2 separate regions of the Homo sapiens genome follow, and region 2 is linked to region 1. Evidence: promoter capture Hi-C in 16 types of primary human blood cells and fetal thymus (Javierre and others, 2016). All regions are on one chromosome and are shown on one strand. The core of a region is centred on a gene start or on the middle of the fragment in contact, and the rest is flanking DNA. Distances in the headings are between cores, read along the strand shown. Region 1 holds the start of LEP (leptin). Region 2 overlaps RBM28 (RNA binding motif protein 28).

Region 1 (3,393 bases), core at 108-2,607:
ATGGGTTTTGTTTTGTTTTGTTTTTTTTATTGAGACAGAGTTTCACTCTTGTTGCCCAGGCTGTAGTGCAATGGTCTGATCTTGGCTCACTGCAACCTCCACTTCCCAGGTTCAAGCCATTCTCCTGCCTCAGCCTCTCAAGTAGCTGGGATTACAGACACTCACCACCACACCTGGCTAATTTTGTATTTTTAGTAGAGATGAGGTTTCACCATGTTGGCCAGGCTGGTCTCGAAATCCTGACCTCAGGTGATCCACCCACCTTGGCCTCCCAAAGTGCTGGGATTACAGGCTTGAGCTACCACGCCTGGCTGGGTTGGTTCTCAATGGAGTGGTTTGTTTTTGGAGCTGCTCTGCGCAGTGGGGACCAGAATAGGCCTGGGTTCCTAGCCCATTGCTATTCCTTACCAGCTGTGGATTCTAAGGAAAGTCATTTAACCTCGCTGGACCTTAGATTCCTCATCCCTGAAGCCCAAGGGTAAAACAAAACAAAACAAAACAAAACAAACCAACCCATCATGTAAAGCGGGGAACTACAAACGATACAGGTGAAACATGCCTACCACACCACTCACAGGCTATGATGACAAAAACGTGGCTACATCTGGGACCACCCCCCAACCCCCACTTTGTACGTAGGAAATACGGAGTTGAGGATGGAGACCCACAGTATGTCCAGAGTGTCCCCAAAGGCCACAGTGCCCGCCTGGAGCCCTCCAGAGAGCGTGCACTCCCTGGGGTGCCAGCCAGAGACAACTTGCCCTGAGGCTTGGAACTCGATTCTCCGCGTGCCAGAGAAGGGGTGGGACTTCAGAACCCCCAACCCCGCAATCTGGGTCGGGGAGCCTGGCGCACTGCGGGCCGCTCCCTCTAACCCTGGGCTTCCCTGGCGTCCAGGGCCGTCGGGGCCGAGTCCCGATTCGCTCCCACCCCGAAGCCGCGCCAGGACCAACGAGGGCGCAGCCGTATGCCCCAGCCCGCTCCGCGGAGCCCCTCACAGCCACCCCCGCCCCGACCGCGCCCCGCGCGGCTCGAAGCACCTTCCCAAGGGGCTGGTCCTTGCGCCATAGTCGCGCCGGAGCCTCTGGAGGGACATCAAGGATTTCTCGCTCCTACCAGCCACCCCCAAATTTTTGGGAGGTACCCAAGGGTGCGCGCGTGGCTCCTGGCGCGCCGAGGCCCTCCCTCGAGGCCCCGCGAGGTGCACACTGCGGGCCCAGGGCTAGCAGCCGCCCGGCACGTCGCTACCCTGAGGGGCGGGGCGGGAGCTGGCGCTAGAAATGCGCCGGGGCCTGCGGGGCAGTTGCGCAAGTTGTGATCGGGCCGCTATAAGAGGGGCGGGCAGGCATGGAGCCCCGTAGGAATCGCAGCGCCAGCGGTTGCAAGGTAAGGCCCCGGCGCGCTCCTTCCTCCTTCTCTGCTGGTCTTTCTTGGCAGGCCACAGGGCCCCACACAACTCTGGATCCCGGGGAAACTGAGTCAGGAGGGATGCAGGGCGGATGGCTTAGTTCTGGACTATGATAGCTTTGTACCGAGTTCTAGCCAGATAGAAGGTTACCGGGAGCTGGGGAGCGTTGGATTTGCTGCTGGGCTGTGCCGGTGCCCAGAAGGCAGGACCTTGCAGAACCAGCCAGGTCCCTGGGAGACTGTCAGACCCACCAACCTGGTGGCATTCGCAGAGCTGAGATGCATTGGAAATTGCCTTGGGCACATCCCCAAAGATCAGGATGTCCCACCCCAGTCTGAAGGAGATAAAGTTGGGGGTAGGAGAGACGCAGATGCAAGTGATCAGTCTCAGTCCCAGACATTGCCTTGCTCTGCGGGTAGGAATTCAGGATTCATTTTCCAGGGAAGTTCCTGACCTCTGAATGAGAGGGGCTGTGTAAGGCCAATGCCTGGGAGGAAGGCAAGGATGAGTAGAGGTGGGGGGAAACAAGTGTCAGGAAGACTCAAAATCTTCCAGAGAAATTGTGCAGGGTCTTACCAGATCTGTCCTCAAAGCCATGCAAATTGCCTTCTTTGCAATGCATACAATGAGGTGTCTCTGGGGGTCAGAACTGGTTATTAGGGAACTTCTAGCCAGGACTGCTAAATACGCGCTGTTGGCCCACCAGGCTCACCTATAGCCTTCCTTCAGTCTGGGCTTGGTTTGGATTTCACTGTGGGTGCCATCGCCTTTACACTCCTGTTTCTATAGTTTAAAGATAGTGGTGCTTTGGGAAAGTGACTCCTTAAATACAGTTAGGTCCAAGTGAGACAAGTGGCCTGGCTGTCATTTCAGAATAGCAGCTTCCAAGAGGTGATTAATTTCTGTTGGAAGGGTGATCTTTGGGGAGGTGGGTGAAGAGCAGAGACTTGGTGGTACCGTTCCAGGAGCACAGGCTCTCTTCCTTTGCAGTGCAGAATGACCTCTGGCAGCCGGAGTTGTGTTTGTTCTGTAGGATTCTGAGGTGGGCCATGGGCAGCTGGAACTGGGGAATTTTGCCAATCTCTTTCATATTAGGATTGTCTGCAGAACCAGATATGGAGGCTTCTAGCAACGTGAGTGCTCCTGTTCTAATGCCCTTAGAAACAAGAAGGCCACACTGATCATTTCTCTCACTTAGGCAGGGAGACAAGGCAAGAGAGAAACAGTGGATGCTTTTAGGTTCTTTCCCTTCCCAAGCAGTTGTGGACATTGGGCTGAGGGGAACATTTCCACATTGGCTAAAGGAGCGTCCTCCTCATATTTTGTACATTTTATACCCAAAATAACTCTTCTTGGTATTTGGGGAAATATTTTCCTCCCCGTCCATTCCAGGAAATGGCTCCAAGTGCCAAGGACAGAGCCAGGGAAGTTGCAATGAATTCCTGCCCGTCAGCCCCAGGCAGATGCCTTGCACGTCTGAGTGGCCCATGCAGAGCGTGGAGGTGGCCGCCACGGAACCTGGGTCAATGTCCCACCCCCGCTTAGATGCCACCAGGGGCGTGGGAGCCAAGGAGAGAAGAGGGGCTCCAGGAAGGTAGAGTCCTTGTGTCTTGTGCATCTGTGAACAGCACTGGTATGATTTAAAGGAAAATTGAGCCAAATTTTCCGGCAGTCAGTTACCCCATCCCCACCGGGGTAGGAGTCTGGCAGCCGCAGCTCCATTCTGGCCAGTCGGCAGAGAGCCTTGAAATTCTTCTTTGTCCACACAGTTGTCTCAGAGAAACAGAGAGGTTGTTTCTGCTTAAAAACAACACACTTGGTGTCTGGGCCCACAGACTCCTTTGCACTTATTCCACGTGTGACAGCCAATGTGCCTCGTTGCTTAGCAGACAGCATGTTACCGTCTTTCCTGCTCAGTTTGTTAGCTCTATGGAATGGAATTTATAATCAATGCCCATACCAACATTTCACTAATATCATAGGAG
Region 2 (3,039 bases), core at 148-2,647, 95 kb after region 1:
GCAGCAGTCTGCAAGCTAGGAAGAGAGCTGCACCCAAAATGAATCAGCTGGCACCTGGGACTTCTAGCCTCTAGAGCTGTGAGAAAATAAGTTTCTGCTGTTTAAGCCACCCAGTTTATGGTATTTTGTTATGTCAGTCCAAACTGACTAAACAGTTCTTTATCCCCATCTCAACTCCAAGGAGTTGTTTAAAATCTAGCTTGATGTTGAGATGGTTATATCATCTGTTTCATCTATATTATCTGTATAAGATGCTGTTTACCTGGTTATTCTATCAAGTTGGACAATCCAGAGAGAGGTAGAACCTCAGCATTAAGCTAGGTTTTCAATTCCCTAAGAATCTTAACCCTCAAACACCACTCCAAAACTCACTTAAAAAACAAAACAAACAAAAAGGAAACAACAAAAAAACCTTTGGAAGAAAGGAGTATAAAGGTTTCCTTTTCAGCATTTAAACATAAATTTGATAGAACACCTTAGAGTCCTATTTAAAAAGAGATCTAAGCAGAACTGATGCTCATTTCCGTAACTTCAGTAACTTTTTTAAAGTCTAAAGACATTTATGAAAATCCAAACAAACCTTTATCCTCTTGCTCCTCAGTGCTGGTATCACTCTGAGCCAGTTCCTCTCCATCATCAATACTATCGCTTTCCTCTAGGTCACTGTCCTCCTCAGAATGATCACTGCTTTTTGCAGGGGCTGGTCTCTTGACTGCTCTGCAATGGCACAGATCAGAACTAAGGAGGTGGGCTGACAGAGGGCCTATTCAATTTCATTACACATGTCAATTCTGCAATGATGCAGGCAGAAAAAGGAGAATTTTTCCTCTCGGAGACAATCTTGAATCTTCCTCTGCTGTCTCAGAACAGGATGAGCTGCTTACCTCTTCTGAATTTGCACAGGCTTGGTCACCTTTGATTCTATATTCTCTTCCTCTTCATCTTCATCATCAAAAACCCCATCTTCTTCATCATCATCATCGTCATCATCATCGTTTTCTTCCTCTTCCATATCCTCTTCCTCTCTGCCCTTCTTTTTAACTGATTCCTGATGTTTAGATTCATGGCTCTTTTCCTCACCTATGGAGGGAGGTAAAGAAAGGAGGAATTCATTTAATATCCAAAACAATGTTATTTTAACAAAAGTAACCAATACTCCAAGTTCTTGGTTTCATCGGTTTTACAGAATTTCGTATATTTTTCTTACTGCATATAACAGGAGAAAGTATAAAGAAAAGAAAAAGCAAAAACAGAAATAAACAAAACTCTCAACACCCAGATTCCTTTAGAGTTTGTCCCATTCATCAGTCTGAAGGTTCATCTGGCCCAGACTGAAAGAAGTGGCAACTGAGCCTCTCCAAGCAGTCTACCATTCGTACATCATAGCCAGCAAAATGCTCACTAGGGGGCAAAGCCAAGCCATGAACTTTAATCTCAGTGCGTTCTATTCTCTGAGACCCTGGTGGCTTACCAGCCAATTGTTTTCTAAATAAACCTCAAGTTTTAAGTTTCTCTATTCTTAATGTTCCATCACTCCTATTATGCACAGCCTGGAAACAACAGCAAGTAAAGGGGACAGTGAACTCAGGCTCACTCACAGCCACTCCCAGGAAGGGGCTTAGACTCAAAAGAGCCTAGGTTTTGGGACCAGAGCACCAAATGGTACAATATGAATTGACAAACAGACCTGGACTCACTTCTGAGCCAGCAGGAATTCAGAGTTTTCCCTGAAAGCCCAGTCTCATTCTTTTGGTTAATCTTCCACAATAGTCTTACTCTGATAAGCAGGTTCTCTTACACTTTTTTTTTGAGACGAAGTCTCGTTTTGTTGCCCAGGCTGGAGTGCAGTGGGGTGATCTCGGCTCACTGCAACCTCTGCCTCCCAGGTTCAAGAACCTGCCTCAGCCTCCCAAGCAGGTGGGATGACAGGCGCCCACCACCAAGCCCAGCTAATTTTTGTATTTTTAGTAGAGATGGGGTTTTGCATGTTGGCCAGGCTGGTCTCAAACTCCTGACTGCAAGCAATCCACCCAAAGTGCTGGAATTACAGGCAAGAGCCACTGCACCCAGCCTTTTTCTTACACTTTTATCATGAACACAGGAGTTGTTTCAATACTCTCACCCAGGTTATACAACGCCCCTACTCACCCAACACTACCACATCTTACCTATAGCAGAAACAGACTGTGTATCTTTATATTTATCCTTTGCCACGGCCCAATCCACAGCCACTGTCCGGCCTGTCAAGCAGAAAAGTGGCATCAGAAAGGCTCTCCTTTTAAAAACCCTACCTCTGTAAATGACCCCTAGTCATCACAGACAATAATGGAACCAGTGGAGACAAAGAAACTGCCAATTCAGGGAATGCTGGTCTTAAAATAAAGCTCCTAGTCACTGCCTACTCCTTTTAACCCTTAACCTTTTTATCAATGAACAGAAATTTTGCCTTTCTACATAGCCACCACACCTGGGATAAGATGGAGTAAAAAAATAAAGAATTAGAACTATGTTTCCAGTTAGACTATCAGGAATCAAAACAGGCATTCTGGAATCATCTGCACCCTACCTGGAAGCTAGGACATCTCTACGGCAATAACTTCTTTTTTTTTTTTTTGAGACACAGTCTCGCTCTGTCGCCCAGGCTGGAGTGCAGTGGTGCCATCTCAGTTCACTGCAACCTCCGCCTCCAGGTTCAAGCGATTCTCCTGCCTCAGCCTCTTGAGTAGCTGGGATTACAAGCATGCACCACCACACCTGGCTAATTTTTGTATTTTCAGTAGAGACGGGGTTTCGCCATGTTGACCAGGCTGGTCTTGAACTCCTGACCTCAGGTGATCCACCTGCCTCCTCGGCCTCCCAAAGTGCTAGGATTACAGGTGTGAGCCACCGCACCTGGCCGGCAATAACTTCTTTAGGCACAGTACTTGATAAGTCAATATATAAATCACAGTCAGTTTAATAAATAGCCCACAGATGCTGAACAGTGATATAACCAAGGAGGAATCTAGATACCAACCTGCATCTATCAGCAATTATCTC

Evidence for each region. Contacts are between HindIII fragments. The CHiCAGO score rates a contact against its expected background, and 5 or more counts as called.
Region 2: a fragment that was not itself captured here is called in contact with the fragment with the promoter of LEP in region 1 in 2 of 17 cell types (megakaryocytes and neutrophils); the score reaches 5.4 in megakaryocytes.

What each region holds. Positions count from the first base shown.
Region 1 is chr7:128,239,921-128,243,313 of GRCh38, forward strand. It overlaps LEP (leptin), which reads left to right and starts at 1,358. Exons shown (of 3, transcript NM_000230.3): 1 at 1,358-1,386. RefSeq lists promoters at 1-1,386, 1,140-1,386 and a cis regulatory region at 1,304-1,312. The HindIII fragment of the contact is 7,258 bases long and covers 1-3,393 here.
Region 2 is chr7:128,334,963-128,338,001 of GRCh38, forward strand. It overlaps RBM28 (RNA binding motif protein 28), which reads right to left. Exons shown (of 19, transcript NM_018077.3): 6 at 2,169-2,240; 7 at 885-1,080; 8 at 581-717. Among named protein-coding and RNA genes, the nearest start is that of RBM28, 7.4 kb to the right of the region's middle. The HindIII fragment of the contact is 3,765 bases long and covers 1-3,039 here.